Regions from separate parts of the Homo sapiens genome. Here regions 2, 3, 4, 5, 6 and 7 are each linked to region 1. Evidence: promoter capture Hi-C in 16 types of primary human blood cells and fetal thymus (Javierre and others, 2016). All regions are on one chromosome and are shown on one strand. The core of a region is centred on a gene start or on the middle of the fragment in contact, and the rest is flanking DNA. Distances in the headings are between cores, read along the strand shown. Region 1 holds the start of LINC02332 (long intergenic non-protein coding RNA 2332). Region 2 overlaps LOC124903284 (a long non-coding RNA gene). Region 3 overlaps C14orf93 (chromosome 14 open reading frame 93). Region 4 has its middle 330 kb from the start of TRD-AS1. Region 5 has its middle 2.8 kb from the start of HAUS4. Region 6 has its middle 380 kb from the start of TRD-AS1. Region 7 holds the start of LOC124903287 (a long non-coding RNA gene).

Region 1 (4,107 bases), core at 1,460-3,959:
GCCTCCTAAAGGTACAGAGCTCTGCCTTGCCATTCTGATCTCATCCTGAAGGGGGATCAAATCCATGCAGGCAGAGTCAGGAAGAGGGAAGGGCCACGGAGGCAGGAAACAAGACACTTAGTCTTAGGGGGCCTGGGAATGCCAGTCAATTCATGCTCCTTCCTCTGATGGCTGAATCTGGAACCACTTGGTATTTCTGAGTCCACAGAGCTTGGTGGAAAGCCTGGGATCCGAGTCTGGTGGGGATCAGGGCCTAGTTCACCGTGATCCTGTGCAAGCCGCTCCATGTGCCTTCTGATTTGTAAAAGAGGAGAGAATACTCTGTCTACCACTGGGGTTTATCATTTTGATCAAAAGAGTTGATGTTTGCTTTGGTGTTGTACAGATGTAGGATATTGTTAATAAGGAGTCCAGATAAGGATGTCGTTCCACCCATTTCCCTTGGTAAATCACTGGAATAACTTGGGTCAGCAAGGATAAGGTGGACACCTTAGAGGTTGGTAAAAATAGAATCTTGCAGCCTCCACTGGAAAGAAGTCCCTTTTAAGGTTTACCTACTTTCCTCCCATCAAGGCTGGAAGCATGAAATGGAGACCAGGTGCTCCCCATTATGTAAACCATATTCCTTCATCTACCTAGACTCTCTTAGGTCCTGCCAGCCTTGTCTTCTTACACTTATATGATCTTCCTCTAATATTTTCCTTTTTTGTTGTTGTTGTTGCTAAATTTCATGTGGGTGGTTCGGGGAAAGGGTAGACTTGCACTCCTCCCCACTAATCAGTGGGATTTTAGGAAGGCTTTGAAAATGGGAAGGATCCTCCCCTCAGATCCTATCACCTTTGGAATGGGAACATGCCCACATTTCCAGAGCGAACAGACACTGGAGTCCTCTCTTCTCAAAGGTGGCGAACCGTCCTGGAGTGACGTGGGGTGTTCTGGCCTGCGAGGAGATGGCTGCCCGCAGAACCTGCCCGCTGGAGGGCGCTGCAGAGGTCTGGCTCCGTGCTTTCAGATGTGTTCGGCCAGGGGCTCCAGGGGCTCCTTCTGAAAGCAGAGAAGCCCCCAGAGGTTGAGAGGGGAGATAAGACGTGAGCCTTTTCAGCTGTGATGTGGTGAGGAGTCAGGGAGGCCGTGAGCACTGTGGGGCCAGAAGTGTTGGCTTCTGTCAGAAACTCGGCCCAGCCTGACCGCTGCCTCCTGGCCCTGTCATTTCCCCTCCATCACGCGCTTCCTTCTGGAAGCCGGAAGCAGGAGGTGGGAAGCTGCGGAGGTAGTGACAAAATCATGGTGTAACAAGAAGCTCCTAGGGCCGAAGTGACTGGAGAGGTGGCCACATACTATGAGAAACACCAGCGCACCGGCAGGGCCTGGGGAGTTCTGAGCTCTCCCGGGCTGTGTGAAGCCGCAGCCAGCCCACTTTTTTCTCAGTATGGCAGTGCCATCTGACCTGGCCCAGCCCATCTTGTTCGGGTCATGGTTCGTCTTCCTGGGCATTCTGATGCATTCCCACTTCATATTTGCACTGGGATTTCAGTTTACTAAGCATTCCACACCCATTACTGCTTTCAATCCCTTCAACAACACTGAGAATAGGTGGGCAGGTATTTTTATCTCTATGTGAATAATAACACATGGGGACTCAGAAAAATTAAAGGCCCCAGGAGAGAAGGCTAGTGAGGGGCAGTGACGCTTAGGGACAAACAACTGGTTCTCCTGCCTCCTGCCTGAGGACTCCTGCCTGAGGAGAATATAGTAACAAAAGCCTCTGTCTTGCAATTGCAGCCATTAACACATCTCTTTCATACCCACTACTCACTGGACTGTTAACTCCTTGAAGACAGAAACTCTGTGTGTGTGTGTGTGTGTGTGTGTGTGTGTATTTAATGGGAGCAGTACTTTCTTGAGGCATAATTACATGAAAATACACTAATGATGCATTTGATATATATATAGCCATCACCCAAGATAAAGATATGGAACATTTCCACCACCCCTGAAGGTTTCCTCGTGCCCCTTTTCAATCCATCCTTCTACCCCAGAGGCAAACAGTGCCCTAATTTCTATCACCTGTGATGCGTTTTGCCTGTTCTTGGACTTCATCTGTATGGAGTCATAGTTTGCACAGAGACTGAATCCCCAGAGCACGACACAGCCTGGCACATGGCAGGTATACAATGCCAAAGAAAGCCTGGTTCTTAAACTACCTGTGAGAGAGAGTTCGTCCCACCGGGAAACTGAGGCGGTGGGCGGTTAGTGACCTGCCAAAGGCACGAGTGTATGATGTGGTGGATCCCGGACTCCAGCCAGCCTAATTCCGAACCCAAGGCCTCCTCCGGGCCCCCAGCCCTCCCTGGGCACTTCCTCCAGGGCTCCGGGTGGAGCGGGTCTGACGATCCCGGACGAACAGCGCCCCCTGCTGCCGGCCCAGGCCCCAGGCCCTCCTCTCCTTTGGGGGGGGATGTGACAGGATGACACAGGCCTTGCGCCCAGCGCAGTGACGGGCACAGGGCAGGGACTTGTGGGATAAAAGTCACCTGCCCTTTTATTTTCCTCGGAAAAGAGCTTTTCCTAAACTTTGGGGGCTTTCTATCTCCAGAATTAACAGACAAAGGGAGAAGAGGTCTTTTTGGTGGAGCGCTGCTGCCCCCATGCGGGTGGATGGCGACACTACCGAAGAGCAGGCGATCAAGCCTGGTATTTTTGGGTTTCAGGTTCTGCGGCTCCCTGAGACCAGCAGATTCCTGGTCTCCGGGTCCCTGGGTCCCGGACGTGTCCATCAAGGCGTCCATTAGGGCCATCACCTAATGGACAAGCATCAGGGTAAGGGGGGAGGTGCTATTGGGGGGGGGTCCCTCAGAGAATCAGCCCTAGCTCTGTGTGGGGGCAAATACGGCCTCCCCACCTCCTTCCCTCCCAGGAGACACTGGCCTGAGCATAAGTCTCGAGGGTCTGCCCTGTACTAAGCAAGCGCTTAATCAGGTGAGATCAAGGTCTGATCTTGGCTGGTTTGGAGGGGCAGCAGAGGTGCGGTGAGGGAGGCGGCTCAGCGGTGGGGCCAGCAGCACCTCCCCAGCCTGCTTGCGGGCCCGGTGCAAGTCACCGAGGGGCCGGCAGCCCCTCCCAGCCTGGCATGTTGGCCTTGCTGCACCTGCGGTTGGGGGGTGGTGTAACGGCCCAGCCTGCTCCCCTCGGCACGTGGCCTGGGGCGATGCTATCTCTAACTCAGTATTTTAAACTCTTCTTTCCAGAGGATGTGGCTTCTGCGGGAGAGCTTCAAAGGGTGCCCTACTTGCCCCTCTTGGTAACCATGACGTCATGGAAATGGGAGGGGACCGCCCCAGCCCCCAAACACCTGGAGGGAAGTGGGAGACTTTTTCCACTTCCTGTTCTACTTGTGGCTACTGACTCAATGTCTGACCTGTTTATTAATTGCAAAATATAGCTCTATGTGTGCTACCCAGAGAGGCCTCAGGCCTGTGTGTCTCTGTGTGAAAGGAGGCCTGCACTCCCCACCCCTCGCCGCGTTGCCCAGGTGGCCTTGACACAGACGCAGGGCGCTGGTGGTCCTGCAGCCTTCCGGCAGCCAGAATGACAGCACTGGGTCTCCATGTGCTTGCTCCCCCAGACTCATCCCAGTCAGAAGCTCGTCTTCCCACACATGGCTCACGGAGGTAGATGGGTTTTAGAGTAGGACTCATGGAGAAACTGAGGCGAACCCACATAAAGTGACTGTTGGCTCTGGACCTCAGTGTGGTCACACAGTGAGGTCAGACTCCCAGGTACCCTGCGTGATTTACCACAGTCCCTGTCCTCCAGGCTTTGTTGGATAGATGTGTGCCTGCCTGGGGGCTGCCCTGAGCAAGGGGCCACCACTCAGGCTTTCCTTGTTCTGAAGTTCTTGACAAGTTACTTTAGCTCTTGGCAAAACTGTGAAGCATTGACTCACCTGACCACTTCCTCTACTAATCCCCACTTTCCTTTCTCCTGTACTCCCCACTCCTCACACTCAGCTCCCCCCACCCAGAGCCTAACTGCAGGAGTCATTCACTTATTCATTTAACGGCATCTGTTGTGTGCCAGGCACTGTTCTAGTTCCTGGGGACACAT
Region 2 (4,200 bases), core at 133-2,632, 390 kb after region 1:
TTTGGCTTTTCTTGAGTAAGTTTTCATACAGGATAGGTTTTTTTCTTGCTATAAGAAGGGCCTATCAATATACTGTGTTACAGAAAGAATTACTCCAGAATTAAGAGAAAAAAGAAGTATCAAGGGAAAATGTATTATATGTATTTTACTACATATATATATTTTATATACATGCCCACACATGGATATAATATATAAGTATGTGAACTCATAGTAATCTTTCAAACAGTGACATTTCATTATATTATTTACTTGTGCAGATTTCTTTCACTGCTCATCATTGTCTTCAAGATAATGTAATGTACAAACATCTTATAATGGCTTTTAATTATTTTCACAAAGTGGTTTCTGCTTATTGCTTTAGTTTTATATTTACTGACATACATTTTGAGTTGTATGCTCTGGCCATCCTGAATTAGTTTAATGTCATTCTCTTAACCTAAATATTGACTTCATGTCTTTGTACATTCTATTTATCTTTTTCTGTAATACCCTGTCTCTGACTCCATTTTTGGCTAACTGTTTTACAGATCTTAACCTAGATACTACTTCCCGTAGGCAGCTTTCCCTTACATTTAAGTTTCCAAATTAAATGCCACTGTTAGGTGGTTATATTCTACGCTTCTCCTATGATAGCTTTTATTATACTATATTGTAATACACTCTGCAATATTACATGCTCCCTGAAGGCAGAAACAATGCCTTATTCTTCTCATTTGCATCTATTGTTTTCAAGTCTAAGACACATATTAGGTATCAAATGAATAACCTTATTAAGTGAAATCTCAAGTAAATAGAAAACATATTTGGTAACCTCACAAATATTATGGTTACTCATTTATAAAACTGAGAATTAAGGTACAACTGCTTTGCAGTGGTGGTTTGAACATTTTATGACATACATAATTTTAATTATAGCATAATTCTGGCTTTTAGTCCTCAGGTTCATTGTGTTCTGTGTCACCTTGTACATGCTGTTTCTATCTTTAAGATCACTTTTACTACCTTCTCTGTCTTTCAACTTGATTGACTCCTACTAAATCTTTAGGTCTCAGCATAGGCAAGACATACTACAGGCTGCCCCTGACTCACCTCTAAGGCTAAGATGGGGGTGGGACTTTCCATATGCCTTCATACCTCCCTTTGCTTTCCCAAGGTTGGCCTCATTTCACTTTACTCTGTCTGATTAGCTGCCTACATAACTAACTAGACTACAATTTAGTCAAAGAAGATATGTATTTTTCCATAGCTCTTTTTTTCCCAGCATGTAACATTTATGCAGAACTCAGCAGGCAACCAGTTAACAATTGCTAATTGATAAAATGAATAAAACTTGAGACCGATGTTAGCTGGAAATCATTGCCCTTGCATTACAGATGAAGGTCCTGATATAAAATGTTAAGAAGTTGATTCACTTGCTCAAGAAGACACAACACACTTATGGCTAGAACAATGCTAGAAAGTATGTTTTCCCAATGCTGTTTCCCAAATATATTAGATAAGAAAAGAACGTAAATAGATAACTGTGGGAATGAATGAAATGTGAAAGTTGAAGCAGTCTGAAGAGCTTGAACAAAAAGACAGGGATGAGATTGAATGTAGTATTCCTTTTTCTGGTATGATTCTACGTTGCTTTAGAAGGATAAAGACAGCATTAATATATTCCCTCCCCATTATGCAAGACATGAAATGGGGTAAATGTAACAGCAGTTAGAGTGAAAAATGTCCATTGTAACAGAACTTTATAATGGGTTTCAGTAATTTATAAATCATGTTAAATATATCTGAAAAGAAGAAAAGCTGATTTATTGTCTTAAGGTATTTGAAATAGTTTTGTTAAGAGCAGGGATATATAGTAACTGGACTGATTATTCAGCTGAATTTCCACATTTTTTGAAACTGAAATGAAATGATTCATCGTAGCTACATTTCTCTACACCCTGCTAGAAGACAGCAACAACTCTCGCGTGTCTGCCCTTTTGCTGGGATCTGTGGCTACAGCTTTGAATTTGGGAACAGGCTCTGGATGCCTGTGAGCAAAGAGTATGCACAGCAGACTCTCTGCTCAGAGTAGCTGAGGCTCTAGAGTAGGAGCCCGAGATGTGCATGGAATACCCTAAGTATGAAGAGTGATGCTTAATATTCCTTCCTGCTTTTCATTCTCATTTACGTGCATTACGAAAAGGATCTTGGAATTTTTCCTGCCTATACCAATGTAAGCCATAAAAAGAACAGAAAAAATACTGCATGTGATATTGGTGCTCCTGGATATGGAGGGATAATAAATCTAATTCACACTGAGTTAGCTTTACATCCATGTTCAGGAATATAGAATTAAATATGAGAGAATTGATCAACCTACAGATTTTACCTTATAGTTAAACCAACCCCACAAGGATCCCTAGATGAACAAAGCTAAGCCAACCTATATATCACCCCTATTCTGATAAAAAATGTCTTCAGCATTCCTGAAATCACTGTTCCTGAAGTCACTGTTCAGATTATGCCATAAGTAATGGGATTTACAGAGGCTTCCGCATGCTTCTTGGGAAGTATCCTGAATTTCTGTATCTTCTCTCTGTAAAGATCTTCAGCTTCAGAAAATCAGCCTGTGAGGAACAAGCTCTAATCATTTATCTACAAATACAATATACATATAAAACCATAATTTCAGCTTTTAATTCTCTATGAGTGATAATCTCACTCTTCTATAGGTCAATGATGAAGACATGTATGATAAGAATTTTAAAGATTGCTAGCTGTTCAAAAGCATGACTTGTTAATAGCTTCTGTAGGAAGGGCCCATACTTGGTGGTTTGGGGCATGAGTGACCATGAACTCTCTTTTCTCACAAAGTTAGTGATACTGAACAAATCCCTGAACTCCCACAGCCTGTTTTCTCTACTAAAATATGGATTATTCTAATAGTTGTCTTAAATAATTATTAGAAGAATTAATGTAATACATGCAAAACAGGTGGAATAATAGAAGTTCAACATAATCTAGACATTATTACCATTACACAACAGTGTGCTCTAAGTGATAAAATTCTTTCTCATGGAGCTACAAGTAACAATTCTGATACCACTATACATGTTTAATGGAATTGGACTATGATGTAAATGAATAGTGGGTGGTAATGACAAAAATTCTTTGCTTGACCAAACTTTAGTCAGGCTTTTGAAGTTTCTCCTAAGCTCATCTGTACATTTTCTTGTAAAATGTAGTTTTAACAAGAATCCTTCTAAGTCAGTTTAGCAAGAACCACACCCTCCCCTGCTGCCCTCGTCATCCTCCGCTTGATATCTGATTACACTCCATATCCAACTGGGCTCCTCATCCTCTATCATCCCCCAGGGGATTGATGTCTGATCACCCTGACCTGTCTTCTGCAAGGATCCTGTTTGGCTGGTCTAGCCAGACTATCCCTTGGTTCTAATGTTTCCTCTTAGTAATTTCCTATCCACTGACCCCTAATCTGCCCCTTGGCTAGAAATCTCCACTTGTCTATGCTGTATTCGGAGTTGAATCCAATTCTTCTCCCTCACTGCAAAATCCTGTTGCAGTGGTCTCTGTACCTATCATGATGGTCCTAAATAAATTCTGCCTCACCGTGTTTTAACAAGTATTACTGAATAACTTTTTGTTAACAGTGAGAGCCAGGCTGTGCACCCCTGTAGTGGGAATTTATGGATAAGTAAGGGGAGGAGGCTAGTGTGATCCACGTGGTAATGATTTAGCATTGGAGACATTGCTAAGAACGAATGTTTAACTTAATATAGATACAGATGGTTATGCTACATATAGAAATATTTATAGATATGCAGATATACATAAGTTAGTATTCACACATGCAATTCTTTGCTCAGAAATGCCTGTACACTGAGAAAAACTAAAAGAAAAGACATCTCAGGAAATGTTCATCACTGGAAGAACCTGCAGTAGGACCTTGGTTTTCCCATTCCAAACACACATCCTTGCCCCCTAGTATACAAGGGAGACAGGGCACCCGCATTCCAGAAGCTAGCAGAAACAAAGCATCACTAGAGATTTATGCTTTAGCTAAATCAGCAACCTCTTTCTGAAAGTAGAAAAGGAGAGTGGTTAGACTCTTAAACACTCTAAAACTCAGGGAACTTTCTTAACTTATTTGTAAGGTTTTGTCATGTATCAGTCTTTCTTTAGGCTCAACTTGCCTCA
Region 3 (3,831 bases), core at 699-3,198, 440 kb before region 1:
ATCAAGTATTATTTAGAAAATTACAATATTTATTAAGTTCCCGGGAGTGTTCTCAGTGGTACAAATCAACTTCTTTACCCCTTTTTTTCTCTCCTGGAGTAGTTTAGTTGCTTAACTACAGTAATTTAAAAGAAAGGCAGTTTGGTTTATTACTGACATTCTGGTTTCTCCTTTAATGGGGGCTGGTCATGCAGGCAAAGTGACAGCATAGCTGTTCAAACATTCCTGTTGAATTTTGGATCCACCCTTAAGGAGCTTGAGAAATGAAGATAAGGGGCCCCACGGGTGATTTCTCTGGGCTCCTGGCTGGAAGATTCAGGACAGCTAGTTTCCATTACAGAGGCTCATGGCCCAGGTACACGACTATGTGGGAAAGGGGGCTGTGCAGCCCTGGGTTACCCCAGCTCAATTCCCTGATCTTTTCATTTCATTTCCCTGCCCTCATCCCCAAAGCATTAATGATATAATATAACAGTGAGAAGTTGGTGACATGCTGAGGGCTGCAGTGATGGATGTATTCCTTATTTAGGAGTGTTACTCTGAATGCATTTGTATGAAAATTACAGAGAGGGTAGAATCATGATTGTCATGATTGTTAATGTCAACAAAAAGTGGTATCAGTTAAAAAAAAATACAACACTACATTGAAAGTAGCAATAACTGGATTCTGCTGTTATTCCTCTGACCTTGAAAAAGACATATAACTTCTCCACATGTCTCTTCTCTGGACCTGGAGTAATATGTTTCCTAGTGCTGTTGAGTAGATGAGGTAACTTATGTGAAGTGTTCTGAACACCTTAAGGAACAATGTCAAAGCAATGAAATGCAGTACCATTATTACAGTAAAGATGGTGAGGAGGAGGAGGAGACAGATCTACATTTTCTTCCTTAATCTTCTAATCTTTCCAGATGCCGGAAGGTCCTTCTGAATCCCTTCCCTGTTCCTTAGGTTGCACTAGTCGGGGGTTCCATGCTGGGGGGCAGAAGGAATGCTCTCTACCGTCTGAAACCGTTCATCAGGAAGGCCTTGATTTGTGATGTGCTAGGAGAGCACAGGATCTGCAAATAGAAGGCACCTGTCTCCCTTCTGCAGGCCGAGGAGAGGCCGCCATGGACTGTGTGCTTCTTCATGGCTTGTTTACTCTTCTTTCACAGACCCTACAGCTTGGGGCCTGGGCTCCTCTGACCATCCTCATTGAGAAAGGAAAGTGAGTCCAGAGAAGTTGATGCTTCCTACCTGTTGGAGCGGCCCAGCAGTGTAAGCGTGGTTGTTACTGCCCCATCCGCCATGTCCTTCAGTGCCACCATTCTCTTCTCCCCTCCCAGTGGCAGCGAGGCCAGATGCTGCTGCTGCGCCTGTAAGAGTGAGACTAATGGAGGCAACACAGGCTCCCAGGGTGGGAATCCTCCTCCCAGCACCCCCATCACAGTGACTGGACATGGCTTGGCTGTTCAGAGCTCAGAGCAGCTCCTGCATGTTATCTACCAGCGGGTCGATAAGGCAGTGGGTTTGGCTGAAGCTGCTCTGGGTCTTGCCAGGGCCAACAATGAGTTGTTAAAACGTCTCCAGGAGGAAGTGGGTGACCTGAGGCAAGGGAAAGTGTCCATCCCTGATGAAGATGGGGAAAGCCGGGCACATAGTTCCCCACCTGAGGAGCCTGGGCCTCTCAAGGAAAGTCCCGGGGAAGCCTTTAAGGCTCTGTCTGCCGTGGAAGAGGAGTGTGACAGCGTGGGCAGCGGCGTGCAGGTGGTGATTGAGGAGCTGCGGCAGCTGGGAGCAGCCTCAGTGGGGCCTGGGCCTTTGGGCTTCCCAGCAACTCAGAGGGACATGCGGCTCCCAGGGTGCACGCTGGCTGCCAGCGAGGCGGCCCCCCTGCTCAATCCTGTGAGTATGGCAGCAGAGGGCTATTCCTCCTAGGTGCTTTTCCTGGCTTTTCACTCTTTTTCCTTTCTGTTCTTTTCTTTCCATCTTTAAACCTTTTGTTTGTATTTGTGATAAAGCAAAACAGTACCACGTTTCCTTTTCCTTCAGGGATAGTCAGCTCTATTTTCTTCCTGAACCATCAGCTTCTTTGGCAGAAGGTCATTTTTTGCTGTGTGTAGTGATGGGGTGCCCTTCCCTCTCTCTCAGTAGCTCCGCATGGCACCTTCTCTTCCACAGCTGTCTCGGCTGCTCCATGGACTCTGCCTCTCCTGGCGAGGATGCCTGCCGTGCACAGACGGCTCATTCATATTTTATCGCAGGCCCTCTGCTTGCCAAGAGGAATTCAGTACAAAGAGAGATGGGAATGTACAGGGGAGAGAGGCAGAGGTGGAGAGAGGAGGAAAAAGTGAGAGGACAAAGATAAAGATAATAGAAGACAAGTATAGGGAGGGAAAGAGACAAGTAGAAATGAAGGGCTGAGGGAGGAGAAAAAGTGAAAAAAGGGAGCACAGAAGAAAGGTGAATCTATGTGGAAAGAGAATCTACACCACGGGAGAGAGACTATGAGGTAAGGCGAGGGGGAGGTAGAGGAAAGGAAATAAAATGGGAAATGAGAAAAAGAAATGGCCAACTGATTGTTAACAGTAAGAGAATAACATATAGGGAGAAAGAGGGAAGAAAAGAAGGAAGCAAGCAAGCATATTTTGTGAGCAGGAAAAGACATAGATGTACATTGTGCTATTTCAGTTTCTTTACTGCTTAAGGGCCATATGAGCAGGAAAATCCTGGCTGAGTAGAGTAAGAACTGCAGAATGTCACACATGGAAGTATGAAAAGGAGATGGAGCAACTATAGAGATCTTAGAGATAGGAAAATAACAGATGTGGTGCCACTTGAGAGACGGTTGGAGTTCTGTCAGCTCTCCACCTTATTCTCCGTCTGTCCTCTCTTTTTCTCCTCCCCCCACAACAAGACATAGACACCCAGTAAAGAGTAAAGGAGCAGAACACATGGAGTAGATGGGAGGGATGAAACTCCCAGCCCATCTGCTGGATCTGAGAAATGAATACATAAACCCCTCTCTCCCCCTCCAGTGTAACACAGCAACTGGTCATTGCTCTCCTGAAGGCACAGCCATATGGGTAATGGCCACTGCTGCTCACCCCAGTCTGTGGCTGGTCAGGACTCTCCGTGGTTCCAGCTCAAGGGAGGACCTGGAAGGTGGGAGGCAGAAAGGTACCAGGCTAGGCATTGCCCTGAGCTGTGGGTTCTTTGAGGCAGGAAAGGCTTCCAAGCCGACAGGATGGAATTAGATTTCACAGCGCAGAAAGCAGCTCACAGGTCTATAAATCTCAGCCTCCTCCCCCGCATCTTTCTGTGTGTGTGTGTGTGTGTGTGTGTGTGCGTGTGCGTGTGTGTCCCCACTTTCAGTATTTTGTTTTCTTGACTGCAGAAATCCCCCCTCCTTTCTTCCTCCCTCTCTCCCTTGCTCCCTTCTTCCTTTCCCGGCTCTGTATGTCCTTGAGTGAGGGCACAGGCAGTCAGGTAGATGTCAGGGGCTATGACAGTCGAATGTGGCCGGGGCAGGATCAAGGTGAGGGCATGGACTGACTCTGGGAATGGAGGATAGGTGAGGGGAGCTGTTGCTGCCAGTCTCTCTAGGGATTTCTGACTTTATGTCTTCCTCCTTTGCTCATTTGTCTTTTATGTCTCCTCTTTATTGCTGTTACTGTTTTATTTTCTTACTCCTTCTCTTGCTTGGTTTCTTTCTTGTCATCACTTCTTCACCCAGTCCTTTCAGACAAAACACTTATCTAGCTCCATTTCTTATATCCAAGAGCTATCCATAAATGACTATTCACCAACAGTGTCAGAAACATGCTTTCTCCTTGTGAGCAGCCCTATGG
Region 4 (4,108 bases), core at 900-3,399, 410 kb after region 1:
GCCAAAAAGACATCAGCCTCAAGATAACCTCCCCTCCTCCCAGAGAGATTCCAAACCCCGCCATAAACTTCTCCTCCACACATAAACATTCCAAGATTGTGATAAACCCCCTCACCCTAAAACCAATATATACTCTTAGTCTGCAAGAGAAAGTGCTCCTGACCAAAAAATAAAAATAAAAATAAAATAAATAAATAAATAAATAAATAAATCAGCCAGAAGCCCCTCTCATGTTTTATCTAAAGTAAACCTGTCTTTAACTGCCAAGCTGTGTTTTGTGTTTCTTTCCTCTTTCTTTAACTCTTACACATATTCCTGGCTCAAAACATATATCAGGACACAAATGAGGTTTTGAGTGTACCTTGTGGAAGCCGTGGTTCCCACTTTCAATTTTTTAATTTGTAAGTCCATTATGCTAGGCAGTTACCAAAACATTGCTAATCTTCACAATAATACTGTAAATTAAGTATTTATTCTTACTTCTGCAGTACTTATCAGGAAATTGATGCTCATGAAGTTAATATAATATTCCCAAATTTACACAGCCAATAAGGGACAGAGCCTTTAGAAACCCTTGCTCTTTTCATAGTGTCATGGTGCTTTTCAGGAAGAGACATGTAAGCCCAGTGATTAGGGAAAGACCCTGGGCCATTTTGTTGAGGAAGTAAAACAGAATCTCCTATCAACCCATAACACCTTCCCACAAAGGTAGAAGAGAAAGAAAACAGTTTTGGCCAGGTGTAGTGGCTCACGTCTGTAATCCCAGGACTTTGGGGGGCCAAGGCAGACAGATAGGTTGAGCTCAGGAGTTAGAGACCAGCCTGGGCAACATGGTGAAGCCCCATCTATATAAAAATACAAAAAAATTAGCTGAGCATGATGGCATGCACCTGTGGTCCCAGCTACTTGGGAAGCTGAAACAGGAGGATTGCTTGAGCCTGGGAGGCACAGGTTGTAATGAGCCCTGATTATGCCACTGCATTCCAGTCTGGGTGACAGAGTGAGACTCTGTCTCAAAAAAAAAAAAAAAAAAACAGTTTTATTGAATAAGCATTAAACCAGAATGTGATGCATCTCACAGGCAATCCACTAAAGATACTACAAGGAAATAAAGAAATCTTATCCTTTTATATAGCCGAGCAGATGCAACTGATTGTTTACAGTTTCTCAAGATAAACAATAACTAGTCCGCAAGAAAGAGGACTTGACAGCATCATTTTTCAAACATAGTTCATCCTCAATTTACCTGGTAATTGAGGTAGCCACCTGTTTCGTAATTGCCTTCATGCAAAGGAAACATTTCTCATATCTTTATGACAGGAGGTTGGTTTGCAACTGGGAGCAAAGTACCAGCTGAAGTTAGGCACCTATTCTCCACTAAAACTAGATTAGGGCACTACCTCCCTTCGTGATTACATTTTGAAAAAAATGCTCTCAGGTTCTTGAGAAAGACAGTCCTGGATTGTAAAACTGGCAAGGGATTTATTTAGCTTTTAAAAAGATTTACCTACATTTCAAAGGGATAGAAAACTCACAATTACAAGTTTTCTAAAGTAGGTGCTCTAACGAAAGGGAGGGGAGAGTGTCTTTCTCTTTTTGCATCAGAGATAATTAAAATTGTTTTCTTATTTTTATTTGTATTTGCCTTTAAAATTTTCAGAATGAAGGAGTTTAATGTGATAAAGTTTTTAGAGGAGGCTTTTAAAATGGATTACTGGGTAGAGTAAGGTTAAGAAAATAAGAAAAATAACCTTTGGAATATAAAGTTAAGACAAATGTAAGACTATAGTTATTATTTGCATGGAAATTGTCTGTGGTTAAAAGACTTTAGGATGAAATCTGGATTCCATAATCTTCCATGAGTATAAGAAATTGCTATGGAAATTTAATAACGAGTCCTCTCTAAATGAAAGGTGAAGTTTTTTTCCTTTATAAAAAATATAGGAATATTAATACTTTATGAAACAGATATGATCAACATAAATGGAGTCCCCATGTTTGTATAAACAAAGTAATTTGTTTATATATCTTTTCCTGCCTTTACACATGGAAACAAGAAATCATAAAGCCATTTTATGTCAATCTTACTATAGTTAGAATTATGTTTAGCTGCAGCAACAGAAAACTCAACCAAATAATGGTTTATTAAAAATTTTCATGCAAAATTAAATCTGGGGGCTGGATTTGACTTGGCATCTAAAAGACTACCAGGCATGGGATAAGGAAAGGGGATTAGTTATGTGTTTTCCTTTACGGTAAAGTTATCTCTTCCATGTTTTAAAAAGAGAAAAGGAGGGATAGAGAGATGTGTACTTGTATCAGGAGAGAAAAAAACATTATGGGAAGGCCCTATCCAACTTCTGGTCCTATCTCACTGGTCAGAACTGTTCTATATGTATATGGCAATCTCTTGCTGCAAGAGAGGGTAAAATGTAGTGTTGAGCTTTTTTAAAGCTGGACATATTGTTGCCCAAATCAAAATTGAGGGTATTGTTAATAAGGAGGCAGAAAAGAATTGTGATTAGGTTGGCAGCTTGCAGTGTCTGCCTTCCTGACTCCTCTGGTGAGGACTCAGAGTATTAGGCAGAGAATAACTCATTCCCCCTTAAGTAGTCAGTGAAAATTCCACAGTAGGGGTGACATTTACATACGGCCATCAATAACAATATTATTTTAAGGACATTTGTTGAGTATACATGTTATGCCTGGAACTTGAGACAATTTTATGTATTTTATCTCATTTAATTCATAGCAACTCAGCAAGATAGGTGTTCTTACTAACATTAATTTATAAGGAAATGTAGGTGAGGATAAATAATTGCCCAGGGACACAGAGCTAGAAAATTGCAAAAACGAGATTTTAATTTAAGTTATTTTGATTTCAAAACTCAGAAACTCATGTGCATTTTGCTATATCATCTTGCCTTACAGAACAAATACAACTGCTTCAAGTATGAAAATGGGCCAGTGGAGGGCTTGCTATGTGGAGGAAACTGCCAACTTCTTTCTTCTTCAGGCTTGAAAACTTGAAGTTATTGACATTTGCCATTCAAAGACTCTTCCCCAAGCCAGTCCTGTGAACATACAGGCCATTGTAGTTAATGTTTGGTCACTTTCAGAACCACCAACTAGGATGTTGCTTTGAAACCACAGTTGGATGCTACTGAGGTGTACTATCGGTATCTTTCTTCCAAAAAGGTAGTAACTTTCTTCTAATTTTTACAATACTTCTGCATTTTACTGCAGTGTAAGAGTCTGGAAAGATAGCAGCTTCATCATCTCTGGAGTACTACAAGAAAGCTGGGAAACCATCCATTTCTGCCCCATTGTACTGAACATTCCTGGGTGTGGTCTTCTGGAAAACGGAATGACCAATCTGAACCATGAAGTATTCTGAAATTCTCCATGTTGATCCTTTGGATTCAATTAGCATGAGAGCTGAAGGCGTTCCCATTTAAATTAACAGAAAATCCTAAAGAGATGGAAAATCCCTGATGCCAACTATGAAAGGAAGAATTAATGAAAGAAGGAAGAAAGAGAGAATGAGGGGGTGAGAAAGGTGGAAGGAGGGAGAAAAACTCATTTCAGGTTGGGAAAGAATCCCTAGCTCCCTTCCCTGGTGCCTTCTGCTTTGTTTCTACACAGGGGTGGAACACTCAGAAACAGTCTGTCTGATAGCTTCCATTTGTCCCTCTATATCGACTCTCTTTGCTACTGCCTACCCCGGGGAGTTGCAGGCCCATATCGTTAATGATCCTAATAGCAGGCTGCATTTCCAGATATTTGTGTTATAGCAGAGGGGTCTTGTCCTCCAGTGTGTGTGGAAAATGTTTTCTGGAAAGGCAGCAGAAATGGTTCCATGAGGGGCTGAGGTTGTTCTCTCTATTCATGCCATAAGCTGTGCGAGGCGGAGCTGGAGGCATGTGGCAGCCTCGTGACTGGGGCTGGCAGCAGGGTTTGGGTGCAGGCAGCAGGTGCCTCAAGAGCACTGTGCTCCTGCACAGAGGTAGAGGCCTGTATCACCAGTCTGGGCTGCAGTGATGTGGAGAGAACTGTCCTTTCTTGCATCACCAAACTGAAAGGTTAGTCTCTTCAGCTTCTTCACTTC
Region 5 (3,965 bases), core at 1,158-3,657, 400 kb before region 1:
AGGAGTCTAGCTCAGGAATACTTGAGTATGTTCTTGGCTTTATCATTAAAGAGCATTTAAGAAGTGAATGATTGTATTTTGCATATGGCATAACAGAAGGTGAGATGAACAACACTAATGAAAGGACAGGCCTATAAAAGCCAAGCATTCCATGGAATAAACAAAGCGATGTAAGGTATTTGTAGTGTGGTTGTGGCCGAAAATTCGTTTTTCAACAAATAAGTGCCTCACTGGAACTCGGAACCAACAATTAAGTATGGAGATAGGTACCCTGGGGCTGTTAGAAGCACCTCCTTAAATATAAACCCAAACAAATTAAGGTTTTGTTTTTGTTTTTTGTTTTTGTTTTTTTGAGACAGAGTCTTGCTCTGTTGCCCAGGCTGGAGTGCAATGGCACGATCTCGGCTCACTGCAACCTCTGCCTCCCAGGTCCAAGCGATTCTCTTGCCTCAGTCTCCTGAGTAGCTGGGATTACAGGGCACCTGCCACCACTCCCGGCTAATTTTTGTATTTTTAGTAGAGACAGAGTTTCACCATGTTGGTCAGGCTGGTCTCGAACTGCTGACCTCGTGATCCGCCCACCTCGGCCTCCCAAAGTGCTGGGATTACAGGCGTGAGCCACCGCACCCGGCCCAAATTAAGGTTTTAAATAGGATTTCATATTTATCAGCAATAAAATGACATTAACTTAAAAATGAATTGGTCGGGCGTGGTAGCTCATGCCTGTAATCCCAGCACTTTGGGAGACCAAGGTGGGAGGATCACTGGAGCCCAAGAGTTCGAGACCAGCCTGGGCAACATAGTGAGACCCCAACATAGAGAGTACATCTTTATTTGATTCAATTTACATAAGATTCTAGAAAGTCCAAACTATTCTATAGTGACAGAAAACAGAGTTGATGGTTGAGTAGGGCAGGGAGAAGCTAGAGAAAAGAATTACGTACGGGCACAGGTAAACTTTTAGAGTGTGATACATATGTTCACTATCTTGATCTTGGTGATGGTTTCACACATATATAGTTATATCAAAATGTATTGAATTGTACACTTTAAATACTGTGTGCCAAAATACCTCAATGAAGCTGTTTTTTAAAATTCTGGCAAAAAAGAGGGAAAGAGAAGGACAGAGGGAGAGAGAGAGAGAGAATATGAATGAATTCTAGGTCCTTTCTTACAATTCTTTCTTGTTCAAGGACACCGGATGGTGTCTGATTATAAACTTTTTTTCCCAGCACTTCACTGCACTCTTTTTTTTTTTTTTTTTTTTTTTGAGATGGAGTCTCTCTCTGTCGCCCAGGCTGGAGTGCAGTGGTGCAATCTCCGCTCACTGCAAGCTCCGCCTCCTGGGTTGACGCCATTCTCCTGGCTTAGCCTCCTGAGTAGCTGGGATTACAGGCACCCGCCACCACGCCCAGCTGATTTTTTGTATTTTTAGTAGAGACGGGGTTTCACCGTGTTAGCCAAGATGGTCTTGATTTCCTGACCTCGTGATCTGCCTGCCTCGGCCTCCCAAAGTGCTGGGATTACAGGCTTGAGCCACCGCACCCGGCCTTTGCTGCATTTTTAACTGCCAGGATGGACTATAGGCTTAACTTTCCAGTCTTACGTAGAGCTGGCCTATAAAATCCTTCACTTCGGTTGGTCCTGTCTCCTCTTGGACCTAGAATGCAGTTTATACTCCCCTTGTCTCTGCTTCCATTTGCTGGGATGTTTCCTTCATTCTAAATGATCCAAATTTTCTCTATCCTTTCAGGCCCAATGAAAGTAAGATTTATTTCATCTATTCTATCCTATCTATTTCTGCAGAAAGAATTCTGTACCTTCTTCATGTTTCTCTAGTATTTATAATCTAAACTGCTCTTTTGACACCAGTTTGCTGCCTTGTATTATTTGCTTTTCATGTGCATACGTCTTATCTTTTAGATTATGAACATCTTTGGGGCAAGGACTGGGCCATATTTAGCTTTGTGTCTCTCCCAAGGCACTTAATAGGTGCATAATAAGTGTCAATTTAAAACACCTCACTTTTAGTCTTTCCAATGCACTTTCTCAGCCATTATCTCATTTGATCATTACATCGACACTATGAGATTGGAGGAGCTAGAAATAAGTTATTTCCTCCTTTTGACAGATAAGGACCCTGAAGCCCAAGGTCACACAACTTGTAGAGACAGAGATGGAACAGATAATTGCACATGAAGGTCTGATCCAATTCAAGGCTTCTTTGCATCACTATCCCCTCTGTCCTCCTACCTGAAGACAGCTTGCTCCATCCTTCACCCCCTCATTCCCCAAAGTACTTTAGCCAAAGCTTCGTAGTACCATATTAGAGAACTTGACAAATCTGAGAGACAAAATTTCAGTAGATTTCCGATCAGCTCTGAGTCACCAAAGCATACTTGCTATTTTGTTCCAAGTGCCGTTTGCTATGGACATTATGCCTGATATTTAACTTTGCTGTGCTTCAGAGCTGAGGAAGCATAAATGATTTTTAAAAGCTTCAGAAAATGACAGCAGTTCAATATTAAGCATGAAAGGTGGCAGCTGATGAGCTGACCAAGAATATAAAATTTCTTCACTGGACCACACCATTCCTCTATGCATATTAATAGAATTCTGTAGCTGGTACTGAAGGAAAAGGCGAAACTCCCCATCTCTCAGCACACCTAACGGAGATTCCTTTCCTATCACTCCAGGCTATCACCTTATCTAATGTAAAAGATGTGATATACTTGGCACAGTTTACTTAGTATTGCATATTTTCTTTTTGTATTTTTTTTTTGTAGAGATGGGGATCGTCTCGCCATGTGGCCCAGGCTGGTCTCGAACTCCTGGGCTCAAGTGATCCTCCTGCCTCGGCCTCCCAAAGTGCTGGGTCAGGCATGAGCCACTGCACCCCGCCTAAACATTTTCTTTATTTTTAATTTTTATTTATTTTTAATTTTTTTCGAGACCGAGTCTCACTCTGTTGCCCAGGCTGGAGTGCAGTGGCACGATCTCAGGTCACTGCAACCTCCGCCTCCTGGGTTCAAGCGATTCTCCTGCCTCAGCCTCTGGAGCTAATTTTTTGTATTTTTAGTAGAGACGGGGGTCTCACCAGGTTGGCCAGCCTGGTCTCAAACTCCTGACTTCACGTGATCCGCCCGCCTCAGCCTCCCAAAGTGCTGGGATTACAGGCGTGAGCCACCATGCCCAGCTCTTTATTTTTTTAAATTTATATTTTTGAAATAATTCACCGAAGGTGTGGGTGGGAGTGAGGGTTGGGTTTAAGGTTAAGACAGGTGGGCCGGGCGCGGTGGCTCATGCCTGTAATCCCAGCACTTTGGGAGGCCGAGGCGGGCGGATCACGAGGTCAGGAGACTGAGACCATCCTGGCCAACGTGGTGAAACCCCGTCTCTACTAAAAATACAAAAAAAATTACCTGGGCGTGGTGGCGCCCGCCTGTAGTCCCAGCTACTCAGGAGGCTGAGGCAGGAGAATCGCTTGAACCCGGGAGGTGAAGGTTGCAGAGATCGCGCCACTGCACTCCAGCCTGGCAACAGAGCAAGACTCCGTCTGGAAAAAAAAAAAAAAAAAGATTAAGACAGGTGAAAGATATTTGGCCGGGCAGATTGCTTGAGGTCAGGAGTGCGAGACCATCCTGGCCAATATTGTGAAACTCTGTCTCTACTAAAAATATAAAAATTAGCCAGGCGTGGTGGCTCGTGCGGGTAATCCCAGCTACTCAGGAGGCTAGGGCAGGAGAATCGCTTGAACCTGGGAGGTGGAGGTTGCGGTGAGCCGAGATCGTGCCACTGCGCTCCAGCCTGGGCAACAAGTGCGAAACTCCGTACCCCCAAGAAAACAAACAAACAAACAAACAAAACAGGCGAATGAGGAATGCGCGCTAATAGGGAGTCTGTGGTGGGAATTCGAGAGGAAGGTGACCCTGAGGAAGCACTGTATGGTGCCCGGCATGGGCTGG
Region 6 (4,264 bases), core at 1,481-3,980, 460 kb after region 1:
GCCTCTGCCCGGCCGCCCCGTCTAGGAAGTGAGTGCCTCTGCCCGGCCGCCCCGTCTGGGAGGTGTACCCAACAGCTCCGAAGAGACAGCGACCATCGAGAACGGGCAGTGATGACGATGGCGGTTTTGTAGAAAAGAAAAGGGGGAAATGTGGGGAAAAGAAAGAGAGAACAGATTGTTACTGTGTCTGTGTAGAAAGAAGTAGACATAGGAGACTCCATTTTGTTCTGTACTAAGAAAAATTCTTCTGCCTTGGAATAAATAAATAAATAAATAAATACATAAATACATAAATAACTTGTGAGGTCTGGATCCAGGCAATGGAGACAAGACACAGTAGCAGGGACAAGCTGCGTAAGGGATAAAAATTGCTTCCTTCAAAGAAAAAAAAAAGTCTCAGCCAGTCCTGCTGAATCCTGTCTCACATGATTACTACCATGGGAAGGTTACTGACTGGTTCAGAAATGCTAGCTCCTATTGCAACCAGGCTTCATCACAGCTTAGCCCGTGAACACTGGAGGGCAGCAGGGAAGCCAGCGTAAACCTCACCAAATAGTTCAGCGGGACACCAGGTGGCAGTGCTTCAGAACTTGGTGCTTTAGTTCTCAACACGTGGAATACGCTAGAGCCTGATTCTCAAAGAAGGAATATACAATAGAAAGATTTCGATAAAGGCTTCACAAAGTGGTGACTTTTGCGTAAAGACGTAGAGGAGTTCAGAGCTACACCATGAGGTTTTGTGGGGGTATAGCATTGCAGGCAGAGTGGGCAAAGGCCTTGATATGGAAGCCCGCTTGGAGTGTTTAAGGAATAGTATCTCATCTTTCCCTCTAGCCTCTTGTGCTTCATAGCACACTACTGTAGAAGAGACTCACTGATACATTCAGCACTCTTAAATACTTAGTCGGTGATTTCCTCCATCTGTTGATCCTGAGGCAATTTGTGCCTAGGTTTGTCATCTTGTCATCCTCACTGAGAAAGCCAATGCTGCTGCTTTGTGGCTATTTGCTTCTCCATAGTCCAAACTTTGATTTTTTAGGAGCCCTCTAAGATGTTACACCCTGGCTGACTTTAGTTAGAGATGCTTTTCAAAGTTAGGGAAAGCTGTGTCTCATTTCCCAAATATAAAAAATTGGAAGACTAAAACCTATCTCGTAGGGTGTATGATGCTTAAATTAGGTAATGAATTTGAAATGTATAAATAGTGCCTGACATATAGTATGGCCAATGAATACCAACTTTCTTTTTTCCTAGTAAAACCTGCTTTCCTTCAGTGTTCCGGTCTTTAGCCTGTTACTGCTTTTTCTTCTTCCACTGAACATGGTTCAATGATGGACATGTTAAAAGAAAAACTTTAGACGAATTAAATTTTACAGAGTTTAATTAAGCAAAGAACGATTAGAGATTCAGGCAGCCCCCCACCAGACCAGAACAGGTTCAGAGAGACTCTGTCACTGCCACATGGTCAAAGAATATTTATGGACAGAGAAAGTAAAGTGACTTATAGAAAAAGGAAGTAAGGTACAGAAACAGATGGATTGGTTAAAGCTTGGCATTTGCCTTATTTGAACATGTTTGAACAGTTGGCCACCTATGGCCGAAACTTAGGGATTGGTAGAGAGCAGACTGTAGCCTGTTTATGCATCCTGTTAGGTTACAGGGCCCTATGTATGGAGAAACCTTTGCCCTGAGTTTTAAATAAATAAGGAGGCAGCTTTAGGCTAAACTTAATTTAACAGAAGTTTCTAGAAAACCTACTTGGCCATCCCTTCCCCTGGAAGTAGTCACTATTTTTCATTATCCTCTTGTGGTCATTTCCTCCTGGCTACATTAATACAACTGGGGTGCTGAAAGGGCACAGGGGGATCACTCAATGGGGTTTCATTTTCATTTTCCTAATGAGTAATTATATTAAGTGCTTTTTGTGTATGCTTATTACTATTAGATATCATATTTCTGAAGTGTCTCTTCAAGTTTTGGCCATTTGTATTGTTTTCTCATTGCTTGTTGACTTGTACAAGTTTTTTATATATTCTGCATTTGAATCTTTTTCAGAAATACACCAATGCAAATATAATTTCCCAATCTGTGCACTGACTTTCCACCTTTTTAACAATGATTTTTGACAAAGGGTTTAAAATTAGACTTTCATGTTCATAGGAAGCTAGCTAGAGAGTTTTTTTGTTTGTTTGTTTGTTTGTTTGTTTTGTAAGTACTCTAAAAATACTTTTTCCTCTTTGGCTTCTGTTGATTTTGATGAGAATTCAGCAATCATTCTTAAAGACATGATATATCATGATATATCATGATATATCAACTTTCTCTGGCTGCTGGCAAGTTTTGCTTTGTTTTAGTCCACTTAGACATTCTGAATATGGACTTTCCTTCCACATCTGCAGTGCTTCTGGCAAAACCACAGTGGTGGGCTTAGAGAATTCCTTACTCAACTTTATGGCATTCTGTATAACATTGCTCCTGACCAAGGAGCTTGTTTTATAGAAAGTCAAGTGTACCAGTGAGTTGAGGTGCTTGCTGAAAACAGATTATGAAATGGGTAATGGAAGAGGTAGTTATAGAAACCAGCTACAATCATGTGACCATTTGTGGAAAAAAAGACTATACTGTTATAAACATTTCTTTTTCATTGTGATATGAAAATATTAAAATACATGTCAACCATTTTTTACTCTCCTCCCATTTGCCTATACATAATAGTGAAAGATATGTTAATAAGTTACTCTTATAGCTTGTTATATCTCAGAAGCTAAACTACAGGATATCAATGGGAGAGTGTGACTCAGCTAGAAGAGGAAAGAACATCACCCAAAGATGAATAAATACTTTGTATTCTCTTTAGGGGAGAGGGTTAGGGTATGTGTGGTTGAATGAAGAACAGTGGCATCATATTGGCAGGAAGTATGCTTTTTAAAATTGCCTTTATTTGAAAGCTAAGTGCTATTAAAAGAGGTGCATATGGATGTCAAGTTTACAAGGTGGGGGTATTGTGGTAACTTTGTACTGTCTCGTCGTAACTACCTGGAAATATATTTCTAAGAAAATCCTTCCCTATATTGTTCTCGATTAAGTTGAAAAAAATTGTGTAAGGCAGGTGCCAGGCTCCAGGCACTGTGGCAACTCACATATGTTGCTCTGATCTGCTAACTCATCTTATTGTTGATTCACAACTCCCCCACTCCCCCCAGATCTCCTCTTTCAGCTTCTCTTTTTCTTGGGCCAAGTACCCAGGGAGCATGATAGCAAATAACACCATTTCTTCTGAAGGTCACCAACACTATGAGATTGAAGGAGGTAAGAGACAGACAAGTTTTAGTTTGTCCTCGTGGGTTCCACCTGTCACCATGGGTTCCAAAATGTCTTTACAAATCACAGCTTTTGCATGCTCTTGTCCATGTTCAACTCTCCTTCCCAAATGTGAGTCTAGCTGACCTAGAGTAAATTCAGCAAACAGCTTTGCATAGGAGTAAGAGCAGATTATGGCATCGTATCACAGAAATCTGGCATGCTTATCACGACTTTATTTTACACATGAAAAACATGCCCAGCCACAGAATTTAACAAGTGAGACTGAATAGTTTGGATTAATGGGATAGAAATGTGGTATCAGGAGAATTCTAGGACACATGATCTAAGAAGTACTATTCTACTTGTGAAGCCAATAGGACTGAATGTCCTGATCCTCTTCAGCCTAGTACATAAAACTCAGTGTCAGATTTTGAAAAGATTACATTTTATTCCTGTTACAATTTCATAAAAACATAAACAACTAAGTAACTTCCGAGAGCCACCCGTTCCAGCAATTGCATGAGGTCTAATCCTTATAATTAATCTTATTCTACATCTTTCACGATGGTTCTGCTTCCCTGATTGTATCCTAACTGACATAAAGCTTAAGAGGAAAGGGCTAAGGAAATGATTTTTATGGTGATTCAAGATAACTAGACCCAGATTTCTGCTGTGAGCATCGTTAAGTGAGACTGCCACTTTAAGTTATTATGTGGAAGTCTTTCCAACTTTAGACAACTTTACACATTTTCTGTATGATCTATTTTAAGTAAAAATTGAAGTATTAGAAGAAAGTTGCTCTGAACACCTGTTTCCAAGTGAGATAGAAGGAGGTTTTACTTGGAATTAAATCATCTGATCCAGACCACAGATTAAATCCACAGACCACAGTCACTACCCTCTCTTGCCTGAGATCTGCAGGTGTGCATTTCAGATTGGCTCCTGTAGCAAAGGATGGGGA
Region 7 (3,738 bases), core at 189-2,688, 420 kb before region 1:
GGGAGAGGTGGGGCAGGCCCGTTGGGATCTGCTCCCCAAAGACAGGCCCTAGCCCTCACTCATGGGCCTGGAATTGGGGAGTGGAGGGAGGGAAGAACACACCCAGGAAAGGCAAGTCCCAGAGCCAGGTGTATATATCTTAGTGGGGGATTTTGGGGAATAGCAAGCAGTTCAGTTCTGTATTCTTCCCATGATAGAAGGTGACTAGGAGGCATCAGGGGCTCTGCTACTCTCCCTGCTTTCCTGTTCAACCCTGGTTCCTGGAACACACCCTGCATTCTCAGCAGCCACCTCCCCACAGGAATCATGCTCACATGGTCCCCTCTGCACGGAGCCCTCTGCCAAGCCAGATCCTTTTCTCCATCCTTGGAAGTCTGCAGTGGAGAGAAATCATTCTATAACTGAACAGCTCGTTTGACTGATGGGAAACTGAAGTCCCAGAGACGATTTCTGGGCCTAGCCTGCTTTCTCTAGAAAGTATTTTCAAGTCTGCTGCTGAGCACCTGTGGACTGGCATCTTTGACCGTTCATCCTACACACTGCAACAGAGATCATACCTTGCCTGTGTAGTCTTTTCTCCCCAACAGAAACTAAGCATCTGAATGCCAGGGACCATATCTTCGACTTTCTCCAGGTTTCCTTAGGTAGTGGTGCTGTGTTAAGCACAAAACAGATGCTCAGAAAATATCTGTTGAGTAATTAAATAAACAAGAATGGATCTGCTCAGCCAAGATCTTGCTGCATCTCATTACTCGTTATCTTCTCTACTCAGAAGGGAGCCCATCAAAGGGAGACTGTGACCCCTGGCACATCAGGAAAGGGCAGTCAGGAAAGCTTGGGAATCCCTGGTTTTGACCTGGGGGAGTAGAGTGTGACACTTTTCTCTTCTCAGGCACCTGTATCAAGTGCAACAAAGGCATCTATGGGCAGAGCAATGCCTGCCAGGCCCTGGACAGCCTCTACCACACCCAGTGCTTTGTTTGCTGCTCTTGTGGTGAGTGTAGCCCCAATACTCAAGCACTCCCCTCCCCTGCCCACATACACACTTACAAGTGCTATGGGGAACAGGAGGAGAGCTTGTGCCTCTTCATTTGCTCACAGAGCAGCTGTTGGATCCCCACCAAGTGTCTGGAGGTCCGCAGCTGCTCTGCCTCTCTTGCTTCCCTGTCTGTCCTCTACTTGGCTCTCCCTCCGCCTGGTGGGTCCCCTTTCTGGAGTCCCTCCTTCCTTCCTCACCTCTGTTTCTCCCTCTCGTGCTTCCCTGCTTGCCCATCCTGGACTTGCCTGGCCCTCCAGCTTCTTGGTGGGGCTTGGTCTTGGGCAGCCAAGTTGCCTGGGGCGACAGTGAAAGACTGGAATGTGGGGAGGGTGGGGGCAGGCTGGGGGAGTGGGGAGCTGTTTGGGGCGGAGAGGGGGGTTTTCTCTTGGCTGGTCAGAGTTCAGCCACCTCACTGGAGTGCAGGCCACCGGGCCATGCCAAGCTGATGACATCACGCTCCAGGAATGCCTGCCACTGTTAGCTCAGGAGGCCCACTTGGAAAGGGGGGATGCTCCCAGCGGCCTTAACTGCCCCCCTCCCCTCCCTCATTACCCCCTCCTTACTGCTTACCCATTCTGATTCCTTTGCTAAACCTTTAATCTCCTATCTCTGCCTGTCTGACTTCAGCACTCAGCTTTTCTCACTCCCCCAGTTTCTGCCTGGTTCTCTTTAGGCTCATCTGTCTGTCTATCCTTCTGTTTACAGGGCCTCTTCTGGCTATATCTCTTTCCCTATCTTTCCTCCCCTGTGTCTCATGAGCTTCTAAGTCAGCTTTCCTAACCCACTGGACAGAGTTGGAAGTAGGGATTTTGAGGGGAAGAAGGCAAAGGTGGGAAAATTGCTCATGCTCCACCTGTTCTCACTCCTTCCCTATCCCTGATAATGTAGACACCTGGGAGCAGTTCCTGGGGGTTGGTCACATGGGGAATTGTCCTGCCTTGTCTGCTGGAAGAAGATCCTGGGTTGTCTCTTACCCCAGTGACTCTGGGTCCCTCTAAGCTTAGGGAAGCAGCCTTATACAAACAGGAGAGGGGACCTGCTTTGCTTCCAAACAAAGCACTTTGTCCTTCTGCAGTAACTCCAGTCCTGACCTCCATGGAGTCTGTCCCTGGAAGGAGACAGGCATTTGAGAGCAGGATAGATATGCTCAGGCAAAGAGGCTTCTAGGTTGAAGGGTCCCAGAGGGAAAGGCCTGTTAACAATGTGGTTCTCTCTATGCAAATCATATAGCACCTTATTAAGAGCTCACGTATTCCAGCACGTAGTTGGCTTTACTCTCCCAGGTGGCTTCCTATGCACTGGAGAGGAAGGCAGTTTGTTTAGGGGAGGGGCCCTAGAAAACTGTTAAGGAGGCAGGAGCTGGAGGAGCAGCAAGCAGAGGAGAGGGGAAGTTGGCTGGAATGAAGCCAAAGCAAATTGGAATTGCATCAGATGGAATTTTTGTGCGGGGAAGGACAGACAGCAGTTAGGAGGAAAAGCACAAAGTCCAGGTTTAAATATATTATGCAGCAGCGGGGAGCAGTGACCCCAGAAGTCTTGCACCTGGGCTGTGGGATAGGTTCCAGCCCCTTCTCTATTGTTTCTAGGGCGAACTTTGCGTTGCAAGGCTTTCTACAGTGTCAATGGCTCTGTGTACTGTGAGGAAGATTATCTGGTGAGTAAGGGTCACCTGGACCTGGAATTGGTTTCCATACTGACCCCCTTCTTGGTGGCCCATTGGAGTACCACCCATCATTCTCAGTTTGATAACAGCCTCCGTTCGTCTTGTCTTTTACTTTAGTTTTCAGGGTTTCAGGAGGCAGCTGAGAAATGCTGTGTCTGTGGTCACTTGATTTTGGAGAAGGTAAGTAAAGTGCTTTCAGCTGAGAAGTCTCACTGTGAGGCTGAGGAGCGGGATCAGGGACTAAATGGATATTGAGAGAAGGTTGGGGAAAGAAGCCTGTCACCAGATGAATCACTTTCATCCCATTCCTCCCCAGAGCAACTGTTTACAGTGGCTTCCCTCTGCCTATGGGATCAAGTCTGGGCTCAAAAGCCTGTCAACCCAGGCTTCTATGACCTAGCCCCTCCCTAACTCTGCAGGCACAGCCAGGCCTTCCAGCCTGAGCTAGGAGTGTGGGGTCCTGAGTCTTTTTTTTTTTTTTTTTTTTGAGACAGAGTCTCGCTCTGACAAAGTGGAATGATCTCGGCTCACTGCAACCTCCGCCTCCCAGGTTCAAGTGATTCTAGTGCCTCAGCCTCCCAAGTAGCTAGGACTACAGGCATGCGCCACCATGCCTGGCTAATTTTTGTATGTTTAGTAGATAAAAGGTTTTGCCATGTTGGCCAGGCTGGTCTCGAATTCCTGGCCTCAAGTGATCCTCCTGCCTCAGCCTCCCAAAGTGCTAGATTATAGGCGTGAGCCACCATGCCCAGCCTGGGGTCCTGAGTCGTCTTCTTTTTTTTTTTTTTGAGATGGAGTCTCACTCTGTTGCCCAGGCTGGAGTCCAGTGGTGCGATCTCGGCTTACTGCAAGCTCCGCCTCCTGGTTCACGCCATTCTCCTGCCTAGCTGGGACTACAGGCGCCCGCCACATGCCCGGCTAATTTTTTGGTGTGTTTTTAGTAGAGACGGGGTTTCACTGTGTTAGCCAGTATGGTCTCGATCTCCTGACCTTGTGATCCGCCCACCTCGGCCTCCCAAAGTGCTGGGATTACAGG

The links. Contacts are between HindIII fragments. The CHiCAGO score rates a contact against its expected background, and 5 or more counts as called.
Region 2: a fragment that was not itself captured here is called in contact with the fragment with the promoter of LINC02332 in region 1 in 2 of 17 cell types (naive CD4 T cells and total CD4 T cells); the score reaches 7.2 in naive CD4 T cells.
Region 3: a fragment that was not itself captured here is called in contact with the fragment with the promoter of LINC02332 in region 1 in 4 of 17 cell types (total B cells, naive B cells, monocytes and 1 more); the score reaches 11.0 in total B cells.
Region 4: a contact is called between a fragment that was not itself captured here and the fragment with the promoter of LINC02332 in region 1, in 2 of 17 cell types (activated CD4 T cells and naive CD4 T cells). The highest score is 5.2, in activated CD4 T cells.
Region 5: a contact is called between a fragment that was not itself captured here and the fragment with the promoter of LINC02332 in region 1, in 4 of 17 cell types (total B cells, M1 macrophages, neutrophils and 1 more). The highest score is 7.3, in total B cells.
Region 6: a fragment that was not itself captured here is called in contact with the fragment with the promoter of LINC02332 in region 1 in 1 of 17 cell types (naive CD4 T cells); the score reaches 5.3 in naive CD4 T cells.
Region 7: a contact is called between a fragment that was not itself captured here and the fragment with the promoter of LINC02332 in region 1, in 5 of 17 cell types (M1 macrophages, M0 macrophages, total B cells and 2 more). The highest score is 8.6, in M1 macrophages.

What each region holds. Positions count from the first base shown.
Region 1 is chr14:22,555,664-22,559,770 of GRCh38, reverse strand. It overlaps LINC02332 (long intergenic non-protein coding RNA 2332), which reads left to right and starts at 2,709. Exons shown (of 3, transcript NR_146543.1): 1 at 2,709-2,820; 2 at 2,918-2,979; 3 at 3,249-3,460. LOC105370399 (a long non-coding RNA gene) reads right to left here and starts at 3,205. Exons shown (of 2, transcript XR_007064066.1): 1 at 2,205-3,205; 2 at 1-1,044. RefSeq lists enhancers at 2,104-2,313, 3,174-3,513, 3,564-3,663 and a silencer at 3,014-3,063. The HindIII fragment of the contact is 9,123 bases long and covers 1-4,107 here.
Region 2 is chr14:22,163,993-22,168,192 of GRCh38, reverse strand. It overlaps LOC124903284 (a long non-coding RNA gene), which reads left to right. Exons shown (of 2, transcript XR_007064069.1): 2 at 1-1,343. It also overlaps TRA. Among named protein-coding and RNA genes, the nearest start is that of TRD-AS1, 320 kb to the left of the region's middle. The HindIII fragment of the contact is 7,199 bases long and covers 1-4,200 here.
Region 3 is chr14:22,996,481-23,000,311 of GRCh38, reverse strand. C14orf93 (chromosome 14 open reading frame 93) reads left to right here. Exons shown (of 7, transcript NM_021944.4): 2 at 910-1,885. The coding sequence starts at 1,289. It overlaps AJUBA-DT (AJUBA divergent transcript), which reads right to left. Exons shown (of 3, transcript XR_007064074.1): 3 at 1,882-3,138. Among named protein-coding and RNA genes, the nearest start is that of C14orf93, 12 kb to the left of the region's middle. The HindIII fragment of the contact is 5,209 bases long and covers 1-3,831 here.
Region 4 is chr14:22,148,519-22,152,626 of GRCh38, reverse strand. It overlaps TRA and TRAV27. Among named protein-coding and RNA genes, the nearest start is that of TRD-AS1, 330 kb to the left of the region's middle. The HindIII fragment of the contact is 5,782 bases long and covers 1-4,108 here.
Region 5 is chr14:22,957,937-22,961,901 of GRCh38, reverse strand. No RefSeq gene overlaps it. Among named protein-coding and RNA genes, the nearest start is that of HAUS4, 2.8 kb to the right of the region's middle. RefSeq lists a silencer at 3,290-3,650 and an enhancer at 3,450-3,965. The HindIII fragment of the contact is 187 bases long and covers 2,314-2,500 here.
Region 6 is chr14:22,096,687-22,100,950 of GRCh38, reverse strand. It overlaps TRA. Among named protein-coding and RNA genes, the nearest start is that of TRD-AS1, 380 kb to the left of the region's middle. RefSeq lists a silencer at 365-659 and an enhancer at 365-659. The HindIII fragment of the contact is 2,359 bases long and covers 1,551-3,909 here.
Region 7 is chr14:22,975,600-22,979,337 of GRCh38, reverse strand. It overlaps AJUBA (ajuba LIM protein), which reads left to right. Exons shown (of 8, transcript NM_032876.6): 2 at 893-994; 3 at 2,626-2,693; 4 at 2,820-2,882. It overlaps LOC124903287 (a long non-coding RNA gene), which reads right to left and starts at 1,511. Exons shown (of 2, transcript XR_007064076.1): 1 at 1,237-1,511; 2 at 117-688. RefSeq lists an enhancer at 1,344-1,638. The HindIII fragment of the contact is 1,204 bases long and covers 837-2,040 here.